3 separate regions of the Homo sapiens genome follow, and all the other regions are linked to region 3. Evidence: promoter capture Hi-C in human tissues and cell types (Jung and others, 2019). All regions are on one chromosome and are shown on one strand. Each heading gives the region's core, a stretch centred on a gene start or on the middle of the fragment in contact. The rest is flanking DNA. Distances are from core to core; before and after follow the strand shown.

Region 1 (3,561 bases), core at 1,007-3,506, 630 kb before region 3:
TAACATCTGCGAGCCAGGTCTTTACCTTCTATTTAAGAAGTCAGGTCTTTATCGTCTATTGAACAATCCAGTACACACGACTATGTGCCAGTCACTATCCTAAAAGCTCTACAAATACCAACTCACATGAAAAAAAAAACACCACCACCACCTTATAAAGTAGGAACTATTACTATTAGTATTCTGATGAGGAAACTGCACAGAAACTTAGCTAAGTGGTGGAACTAGAACTCAAAACTTCTTTTCACTTTAGCCGAGTATGCCTACCCTCTTTCTGATAAGTATTTACTTCTACTCCTTTAGTTCAGCTACTCCTCCCCTTTTCCCTCCCAAATTCCCCACCCTGTCAATGAACCTATTTCCTAATATTACTGCCATCATCCTAAAACAAATTTCTTTTCTAAAACAAGTCACTTAACCTTGCTTTTAGGAGCTTTGCTTTGGTCCTAGATGTCATCTTGATATTAATTACGAAACTGAAGTTTCTTCTATTTGTGAAGACCTGTGAACCTACATGGCTCCACTGTTAATTTCTCATATATCTACTGTCCTAGCCAGTTCCACGAAACCATTACTCTCTCCTCGGGCAACTTTCTTTCTCTACCTTATCCCCTCCTATAGGGATTCTCTCCCACCTCCGCCCATCTCCGTCCCATTTTGCATGACTCCTCTCCGACCGAGGGAACTTCCACTCCCCTGCTGGCTCCTCACCCCGGTCTCAAACGCGAGCCACTCCTCGAGGACTTCTTTCCTGGTCCCTTAGGGATCCTCAGAGCCGGAGCGGCCAGGCCAGTTGGGTCTCCCATCCCAGCTCAGCTATGGGGGCGCAGGGAGCTCCGGTTCTTCCCCCAGGCGGTGCAAGATCTCTACTCGTCCGACCCTCCGAAGACCTGCTGCTCCTCATCTCTCCAGGAGCCCCCTCCCTTGGACAGCCGCTTTTCTCAGGAGGGTCCCCAACCCCCTCCGAGCGTTTCCTCAGACGCCCCTACTTGGAGCAAGTCTGCTCCCTGTCACCCGGGACCCTGGCCACCCTCGGCCTTCCTACCTCCCTCGGACCGGGGCCACTCCCAGTTCCCCTGCCCCCCACCCCGCTCTCTCCTCACCGGCCGCTGCCGGGCTTCCCGGATTCCTTTTCTCCCTGGCACCCAAGCCGTCCTGGGTATTCCCAAGACACCCCGCCCTTGAAGCAGGTCGTTACAGGTCACCCCCTCTCTGGGACCCTGGCCGCTTCCGTTTCCTCAGATACCTACTCCTCACACAGTGGCCGCCGGTCAGCGCGCTAGACCGGAGCAGCTGGACGTCCCAAGGGACCTCCTGGCCTGACCCGCGCGGGTCCGGCCGTAGCCTACCTTCCTCGGGAGAACTCCGCAGCCAGAAGCCCAGCCCCTCTCCCCCTAGCCCAGTCAGCGCGAACTCGCCGCCGCCCCCGCCGCCTCCGCCCTGGCCCCGGCCCCGGCCCGGGCCCCGACCCGAAGTCCAGGCCCCCTTCCTCCGGCCTCCGCCTCCGGAGTGCTGAGCTGGAGATTCCGCCCCGCGACGGCCCCCAGATCTCTGACCCGCGTTACCGGCACTCACCTGCCGCTGCCCCCGACCAACTCAAGCGCCACTGCCTCTACCTCGGCCGCCAGTGGCCACCAAGCGCCACCACCTCCCCCATGACAACAGGCCCACCCTCTTTCATACTTCTAACCTATCCATTGGATAGTGGGGCGGCAGCTCTCCTCTCTGATTGGTTTAGTATACCCGCCCGTCATCGCTCTTTACCGCCCCTTTTCCTAAACCCGGTATTCGCCCCCGCCCGGACCTGGAGCGTCCTAGCCCAAGCTTTAGTTGTAATTGGTTGAGGGTTGGGCAATTCGAAGTTATGATAGGCTGCTAAAAGTGTCTGTTAAGCTAACTGGCAAGAGACGTGACGGTTAAGGTTGATTCACGCTTGTGCACAGTTTGGTTGCGCAGTAGAAAGCAAAGGAGGGGCAGACGCTCACATTCGTGGTTACCCGGGAAGGGTTAAGTCTTTGTTGTAGAGTTTTCTCTGTAAACTTTTCCACTTCTCCAGCTCACTTCCTGCAAGGAGAAGCTTATCTCTGCTAGCTTTATTCATAGGGGTAGTACTTACAAAACACCAACATTAGAGGTTGTGTTTAAGAAGTGTTTCCAAGCCCTGGGGAGAAAGGTATCAGAGAGATAAAAATGTCCCCTTCTTTTCTTTGGTCTCAATGCATCCAATTTCATTGAAGTTCTTTCCAGGAGCCTCAATGCTAAAGGGCAAAGCGCAAACTTTCATTTAGCAGAAATCAGTCAACTTCGGTTGCAATTATAAATGTCGTCAATAAACTGAAGTGGCGTATTGAGAGTTCTCCAGCTTCCAGATCCACTCCTGGCTGACCCCTGCCAATTGACCAGACAGCCATTAGCAACTTTTTTTTTTTTTTTTTTTTTCTGTGAGACGGAGTTTCTCTCTTGTTGCCCAGGCTGGAGTGCAATGGTGCTATCTCGGCTCATCGCAACCTACGCCTCCCAGGTTCAAGCGATTCTTCTGCCTTAGCCTCCCGAGTAGCTGGGATTATAGGCATGAGACGGGGTTTCTCCATGTTGGTCAGGCTAGTCTCGAACTCCCAACCTCAGGTGATCCGCCCGCCTCGGCCTCCCAAAGTGCTGGTATTACAGGCGTAAGCCACCGCGCCCGGCCAGCAACTTTCTAATAAGCGGGCCACATTATACCCTTTATGATGCTCTGGAAATGAGAATTCTGCTTTCCCCCACCTCTCACTGCCACTTTGTTTTTCTGTTCAGCAGTTCTTAAATAGCCCTACTAGCTGTGTGTCAGATACTTTAAAAGCTTCTCTCTCTCTCTCTCTTTTTTTTTTCTAAACCTCTTCCTAGCAGTCTAAATTAGGGCCATTGAATGAATTGCCGGGTTGTGTGTGTGTGTGTTTTTTTTTTTTCCTCACTTGGCACAATGCACAAGAATAAATGATTGCATTTTTTATTCACTTGGGTACAAATCACAGTAGGCATTTTTGAGAAATCTAATGTTGCTATAAAAACTCTTGTGCTCCTAGAAATATATTCATCATTAGCTTTTTGTTTTTCCTTTTTTTTCACCCACTTTTCCTGCTCCTAAATAACAAAATGCTGGTCTGATTACTCTTTCAGTTTCTAAATCAGATTTAAATGTACTTTCTCACAACCCCACCTATGATACATATACCCATGGGCCATGAAACAACACCCAGGGATAGTTTAAGACACTGTCAGGCCGTGCGGTGGCTCATGCCTGTTATCCCAGCACTCTGGGAGGCCGAGCCGGGCAGATCACCTGAGGTCAGGAGTTTGAGACCAGCCTGACTAACATGGTGAAACCCCTGTCTCTGCAGATGGTGCCACTGCACTCCAGCCTGGGCAACAGAGTGAGACTCTGTCTTAAAAAAAAAAAAAAAAAAAGACACTGTCAAGGAGGCATTCACCTCAAGGATGTGGACTTTGGAAATGTGCTTTGTCTCTTTCTTCTTTCTGCTAACCCTTTGTCTCATATTTCTTCTATTTACTAACCTCCTTGTT
Region 2 (3,488 bases), core at 445-2,944, 590 kb before region 3:
GTTGAGTATCTTCATTGTCTGGTACATTTCTCTGAAAGATAAGAAGGGCTTCTTAGATTATTCTACCCTGCCCTTTAAAAAAGTATGGGGGTAGAAAATATAGGACTTGGAATCAGGTAAGAATCCCAAGTTCCAATCCTAACTGTGCAGTTTTGCTGAGCCTTATATGCAAAAATGGTATAATGCTTAGCTTACAGGAATAATGTGCAGTTTTTGAGACAATATATTTGTGGGTTTTTTGTTTACTTTTTGTTTTTGCGAGATGGAGTCTTGCTCTGTTTCCCAGAGCTGGAGTGCAATGGCACGATCTCGTCTCGGCTCACTGCAACCTCCACCTCCCAGGTTCAAGCGATTCTCCTGCCTCAGCCTCCTGAGTTGCTGGGACTACAGGCGCGTGCCATCATGCCCAGCTAGTTTTTGTATTTTTAGTAGAGATGGGGTTTCACCATGTTGGCCAGGCTGGTCTAGAACTCCTGACCTCAGGTGATCCACCCGCCTTGGCCTCCCAAAGTGTTGGGGCTACAGGTGTGAGCCACTGCACCCGGCCATGCCCGTCTAATTTTTGTATTTTTAGTAGAGACAGGTTTCACCATGTTGGCCAGGCTGGTCTAGAACTCCTGACCTCAGGTGATCCATCTGCCTCAGCCTCCCAAAGTGTTGGGATTACAGATGTGAGCCACCTCATCTGGCCAAGACAATATATTTGAAGGTGCCAATAGGTACCATTTACTGAACACCTTTATGACAGGCGCTAAACATGTCATCTCATTAATTATCACCACAACCCTATAATGTAGACTATCACCTGCATTTGATACATGAAAAAAATGGGCTCACAGAGTTTAAATACCTTACACGGGCTCACATAGCTATTGCATGCCAGAGCTGGAATTCAAACCCTGGTCTTTTTGACTCTAAAACTTGTTGTCCCAATAGGCATTTGATAAATGTTAGTTGAATATATGAATAACTTAAAACCCATCCTTTTTTTTTTTGAGACGGAGTTTTGCTCTTGTTGCCCAGGCTGGAGTGCAATGGCACCATCTCGGCTCACCGCAACCTCCACTTCCCAGGTTCAAGTGATTCTCCTGCCTCAGCCTCCCTAGTAGCTGGGATTACAGGCATGTGCCACCATGCCTGGCTAATTTTGTATTTTTAGTAGAGACAGGGTTTCTCCATTTTGGTCAGGCTGGTCTCAAACTCCCGACCTCAGGTGATCCTCCTGCCTCAGCCTCCCAAAGTGCTGGGATTACAGGCGTGAGTCATCACACCCGGCCAAAACCCATCCTGGTGGGGAGAAAAGATGCATGAACTACATAAGCTTGACTTTCAATCTAATTTAGGCCAGTTTTTCAGTTACCTACTTGGGTGAGTGGTGAATGTGCAGGTGAACCAGTGCTTTTACTGCCATTAGGTAGCCTGGAAAGGCAGGGACATATTCAATGAGCAAAGATGTGAGAGTTGGCAGTATAAGGTCATGGTGGGAGCCAGAGGTTTAGTGCTTACTTTAGAACAGCATCGTGGTTCTCCAGGAGCAGCACGTCTAGGAAGGTGTCCCTGACCCGGTCCCCTTGAAGTTTCAGGGCTAGGATGCTACGGCAAGCTTCCAGCCGTACACCTGGTGACTCTTCATAGTGGATAGCCCAGAGCAGAAGATCCGTCAGCTCGGGACTTACTTGCCCAATCTGTCCCAAAGCTGCAGAGATTAGAGGGCAGCATGTCACTGAAGACTGAGCTTACTATATTCTAGCATCCAGAAATAAATTGAGTTTTGCAAACAATACCTTCCCTTTTGGATGGTAATCACCATTAGAATTTTAGGGATAGGTCAGAATGGGACATTACCTCCAAAGGATTCCTAGAAGAGGGATGTTCCATCCCATCCTTGCCTGTTAGGATATTTGCCTATTTTGGGATGAAATATAGAACAAATAACATGGAAGACCTGCCTAGTCCCAGCAGGGTGATGGGGAAAGGAGGCACAATTATTTATCTATGTCAAAAAGAGAAGCAATGCCAAAGATTCTAAAAAGAAACTAGGCAGATTAAGGGGCAGGGTTTTAGGTCTGTAGCAGTCTTGAAACTGATCTGACTTTTGCAGAGCGTAATAGTTGAGATCTCCAAGGAAAGCAAGATGCATCCAGCACTGGATACCTACTTGGAACTTATCCTTAATTCTGTTGGCAGGGACTGTCTTGTCAGCCCTTTCTTTAACTTAAGTTTGACATATACCTAGACTCAGGATCTTTCACTAAAAATTGAAGAAAATTATCTTTCTCTTTTCAGACAAGGAACTTCTGAAAAGCTAAGATCATTACCTCTCCTGCACTTCACCCCATTAGAGAGTTTCAGGGGATCATTTCTACTTGCATAGGCAAAGGTATTTAAGGTTGAAGAGTTTGGGGCACTACTTCTATAATACCTCGAATGGCAAAGGCCTTGATTTTCCAGTAAGGATCTCTCTGCATCAGGTTCAGGAGGCATTCAAGCACCTGGGATGGAAAAGGCAGTGTTGAGTGGGGAGGACCAGAGCAAGAATGAACCAGAAACAGCTGGGTGCGGTGGTGCACCCCTGTAATCCCAGCATTTTGGGATGCCAAGGTGGGCGGATCACTTGACATCAGGAGTTTGAGACCAGCCTGGCCAACATGGTGAAACCCTGTCTCTACTAAAAATACAAAAATTAGCCGGGCATGGTGTCACACGCCTGTAATCCCAGCTACTCGGAGGCTGAGGTAGGAGAATTGCTTGGACCTGGGAGGCGGAGGTTGTAGTGAGCTGAGATCGTGCCACTGTACTCCAGCCTGGGTGACAGAGCGAGTCTCCATCTCAAAAAAGCAAAAAAACAAAACAAAGCAAAAGAATGAATCAGAAACAGGGAAACCACTTATCTCTAAAAGGAGCTATAATTGAAAAATGACCTATCAATTCTGGTGACAAATGAGCTGGAGCCTAAAGTACCAACCTATATGCATAGTGAGTACATTAGCTGAATTATCTGCTATTGATTTTCTCAGTCTACAGATCTGGGGCCATATGGCTTCTCTTGAACACTTCAAACAGATTTTTCCCTAATAATGGAATTATAACTCCATTTATGGGAGTTGATCCTAAAGCCCATCAGCACCCAGGTAATGAGAAGCTAGTTAACTGAGGTGAGAACAGGATTCAGGGGTGTGCTCTAGAATCGAAGTCTGGGCTGGCTGGGAGCTAAACCAAGCTTGTCCAACATGTGGCCTAGGACAACTTGGAATGCGGCCCAACACAAATTTGTAAACTTTCTTAAAACATGAGATTTATGCCAGGCGCGGTGGCTCACGCCTGTAATCCCAGCACTTTGGGAGGCCGAGGCGGGCGGATCACGAAGTCAGGACATCGAGACCATCCTGGCTAACACGGTGAAACCCCATCTTTACTAAAAACACAAAAAAATTAGCCAGGTGTGGTGGCAGGTGCCTGTAGTCCCAGCTACACAGGAGGCTGAGGCA
Region 3 (3,668 bases), core at 1,169-3,668:
TGTCTCTACAAAAAATACAAAAATTAGCTGGCATGGGGGCACGATCTGTTGTTGCAGCTACTCGGAGGGCTGAGATGGAAGAATCACTTCAGCGTGGGAGGTCGAGGCTGCTGTGAGTTGTGATTGCACCACTGCACTCCAGCCTGGGTGACAGAGCGAGACCCTGTCTCGAACATTCCTTTATCTCTGCATGGGAGTGATAATATCACAAGGAGCAGAGAGAGGTTTTAGGTTAAGTTTGACTACTCTTCGTGGCAGAGAAAAATAAGCTGAATACTTAAAATAATTGAAAACATTAACTTTCTCCTCTATAAATCCTTTTGATAGTTCTCTAATATTCATGGCTGCCAAAATCGAGGTTTTTTTTTTTTTTTTTTTTTTTTTTGATGGAGTCTTGCTCTGTCGCCCAGGCTGGAGTGCAATGGCACGATCTCAGCTCACTGCAACCTCCGTCTTCCGGGTTCAAGCGATTCTCCTGCCTCAACTTCCTGAGTAGCTGGGATTACAGTCGCCCGCCACCACACCCGGCTAATTTTTGTATTTTTAGTAGAGAAGGGGTTTTACCATGTTGGTCAGGCTGGTCTCGAACTCCTGACCTCAGGTGATCCACCCACCTTGGCCTCCCAAAGTGCAGGGATTACAGGCAGGAGCTACAGCGCCTGGCCCGTAGGCTACTTTTTATCGAACTTTTAATCAAAGATTCACGTTACAACTCCTAGTTGGCTGAGGATTACTCTATCTGTTCTTTTCCAGGTCACTTCAGAAGTTTCTCCAAATGAATCAGAAAATACATAGTGTCTGTTTCTGAAATAAAAGTACATGGAAAGAGAGATTCTTCTCCTTGATGGAAAAGGACAAAATACTTTCTTAAGGTTCTCAATGACTCATTGTGATGGGAGGGGAAGAGGAGGCAAAGGAAAAAAGCCAATTTCAGTAAAAGATTTCAAGAAGTTGGTAAGAAAAATATAGGGTGGAAACTTTGTTTTCCTGCTACTAAAAAAAGATACTAGAACAGAACAAGGATCGCAGCAAGAAATATGAGTGAGGCCAGACCATCTGCCAAACCCTTCAAACTCATCCTTTCTACCTTCCCCATTAAATAGCATATTTAAAAATGAATCTTTGCTGACTCTGCCAAGAATCTTAAAACTGCCCAAGTTTCTTTACTAGAACTCACGGAAACCTGGTGAATACTAATATTACCTAAAAGCTCAGCAATATAGAGGAAATTCTCAGACTGGATGTAATGAATAAGAACGGCACTGTTGTTTCTTGCAGACTGTTTCTTGCCTGCGGTAAATCTTGCCACATACTCTAAATCCTTGGTAGGCCATGAACAGGGGAAAGACTATAAACAGAGTTGGAGATTACAGGCCTCAGGCATGCAACTCCTGTAGCTTTACCATTTCTCCTTAGGTTGGCTTCAGAGAGGACTCAATCCCCCAAGTGCAGAGATGAGGGTGTGTAGCACTAGAAGAGCTGATTTTGGGGTGGGAACTTAGACTTCTTGTCTTACCTGGCTCCCACTTTCTATCACCCGTTTTAAAGATGTTTGGTACCTTGAACATACATGGAACATACTGGTAGCTTTAACTGTGTGCCCTTATCTACCCTATCTATGTAGATGTGCCCTATCTATGTAAACTGTAACTTAGCTGAGAAAAAGTTTAACTCAAAGTTTTGGCAAGAAAGGGGACAGCCAGTCCATGGAAAATACAAAGAGCCACACTTAGGGAAAATAGCTTAGCAAATGGCTGCCTTTGGTGAAAATCTAGAGTCCACCTCTAGAAGGAAATTCAAAGTTCATACACTGACCCTCGCCCCTCGCGTCCCCCCTCCCCCTTACCTCAGATCACCACGGATAGTGAAGTAGGGTGGGGGAAGGGAGCAATGGCAAAGTGGACGCTCACGGCAGGGGACAGAGTAACCAAAAAGAGTAGTTTCTGGGGGAGAGAGAGAAGGCTGGTGCAGAGGTAAAAAGGAAAGACGGTGGGCGGATGGAGAGATGAGGGCAAGAGAGTGACAGCAGGGAGCGGGCAGAGCTGGAGAAGGAGAGTGGGCGAGAGCCAGAAAAGAGGAGGCTTAGGAGTAAAAGGGTAGAGGGCCAAGGGTAACAGCCCAGGGTTGGATCCGGGACCAGGGAGGTTATGAAGTGAGGGCTGGGCATGGGACAGGGCCGCACAGGTCGGGTAGGAGGTCTGGCCAAAAAGGGGTTGGGCCAAGAAGGTGGTCCCGCCCGAGGATGGCTCAGGGAGCGGACGGAAAGGATCCAATTCCTAGCTTCATGGTGCCTTGGCACCACCCTCACTCGCCTGCAGGATCCGGGCTCGCACTGCCGCCGCCGCCAATAGCGCCGCCATGGCTCTCGGCCGCCCTAGCTCCGCACCCCGCGCCTCTACTGCCCAGAAGCACTACAGCTGCCAGGCCTCGCCCTCCATCCTGCCAGGCTTCCTCATTGGTGGGGAGGACTATTTTCTCCAGCCAATCACTGGTCCGAACACCTGATTCCTCTCCTCACACCCCCGTCCTGGGGATAAGTGATTGGTTAGGAGCGAAAATGCTCTCGCCCTCTGCCACCTCAGCCAATGACGTAGGCGGAGGTAGAGAAGACGCCCCTGACTTGGACACTCCCTACCGAGCACACGGGGAAGACGCCCCCCTAACCTGGAACTCCGATTGGCCAAGGGCGGAACCGAGGCCCCACCCCCCCACTGAAAAAAGTAAATAAGACCCTTCAAGAATTTTGCAGTCGCTCCACCTCAACATCCGCGTAAGGGGCGTGGCTATACTTAGGGGCGGGGCTAGGCAAAGATTGCCCTATGAGGCGAGGGAATGAGACTGGGCTGCGAGTTGGGGATAGGGTTTCTCTTTGGGGGCGTGGCTTATGGAACCTCGTTTTCCCGCCGACGGTTGGCCACGTCACGTGACATGGGTTGGAAGATGGCGTCTCCCACAGACGGTAAGAGCCGGCTTAGAGATCTTTGCCTGCAGCCTCCTTCTTTGCTCTACTGGGAACATCCACTCTGTCTCTGCCCCTCGAACATACATTTCTTTCTTGGGCTCTTCTCCTTTCCCTTTTATTTTTTTTCTTGAGATCCATCGCCGTCTTCAGCTCACCGGTTCTTCACAGCAGCTCCGGAGGTGCCCAGTTTCCCCGCTCTGTACCAGGCGTGTGGAGGAGGGCACTAGGGAGGGACTCATTCTGGGTAAAAGGACAGGGGGGTCGCCCTGTGCCTTCCTTATCTCTATTTGGGCGAGGCTGAGGGTCGAGGAGGAGATGTTTCTGGAGGACGTGGCTTACTGTAGTTTTTTCCTTGGGGTACCCATTGAAAGGATCAGTTCTCTTCTGATTGAGCGCACGGATGGAATGATTCTCACAAACCCTCGCAGGGCTGCTGGCTGACCTCATCTCGATACTGAACCGCAAGAGAAACATGATCTCTCTCCTGTCTCCTCAGTTTGGGACCATTGCCGTGGCAGCAAGAGAAGCGGGGGACGTTCTCGGCCCCTCGCCCTGAGAGTCGCGAGGAGAATCAGTATTGAGCTTTTAAGTGTCGTCTTGCACAGGTCGCAACCTGTCTTCCATCTGCTTTACGTGTTGTTTCTTAAGGCTGAGTGAATTAACGATTTCTGTTTATATATTGTGTAAAATGCAAGTCATTTCAAGT

What was found. The method cuts DNA at HindIII sites, captures the fragments that hold promoters and counts their contacts. A contact is called where the count stands out against the background at its distance.
Region 1: a contact is called between a fragment that was not itself captured here and the fragment with the promoter of ALDH6A1 in region 3, in 1 of the 25 tissues and cell types used here (stomach).
Region 2: a fragment that was not itself captured here is called in contact with the fragment with the promoter of ALDH6A1 in region 3 in 1 of the 25 tissues and cell types used here (spleen).

What each region holds. Positions count from the first base shown.
Region 1 is chr14:73,456,918-73,460,478 of GRCh38, forward strand. It overlaps NUMB (NUMB endocytic adaptor protein), which reads right to left and starts at 1,629. Exons shown (of 13, transcript NM_001005743.2): 1 at 1,576-1,629. RefSeq lists silencers at 1,353-1,482, 1,493-1,582, 1,773-1,972 and enhancers at 1,958-2,491, 2,492-3,025. The HindIII fragment of the contact is 4,625 bases long and covers 1-3,561 here.
Region 2 is chr14:73,496,649-73,500,136 of GRCh38, forward strand. It overlaps HEATR4 (HEAT repeat containing 4), which reads right to left. Exons shown (of 18, transcript NM_001220484.1): 13 at 2,423-2,492; 14 at 1,507-1,696; 15 at 1-31. It also overlaps a transcript of ACOT1 not described here. Among named protein-coding and RNA genes, the nearest start is that of RIOX1, 7.5 kb to the left of the region's middle. The HindIII fragment of the contact is 3,819 bases long and covers 1-3,488 here.
Region 3 is chr14:74,082,035-74,085,702 of GRCh38, forward strand. ALDH6A1 (aldehyde dehydrogenase 6 family member A1) reads right to left here and starts at 2,419. Exons shown (of 12, transcript NM_005589.4): 1 at 2,313-2,419. The coding sequence starts at 2,360. LIN52 (lin-52 DREAM MuvB core complex component) reads left to right here and starts at 2,922. Exons shown (of 6, transcript NM_001024674.3): 1 at 2,922-2,959. The coding sequence starts at 2,941. It also overlaps a transcript of BBOF1 not described here. RefSeq lists an enhancer at 2,831-3,010. The HindIII fragment of the contact is 23,259 bases long and covers 1-3,668 here.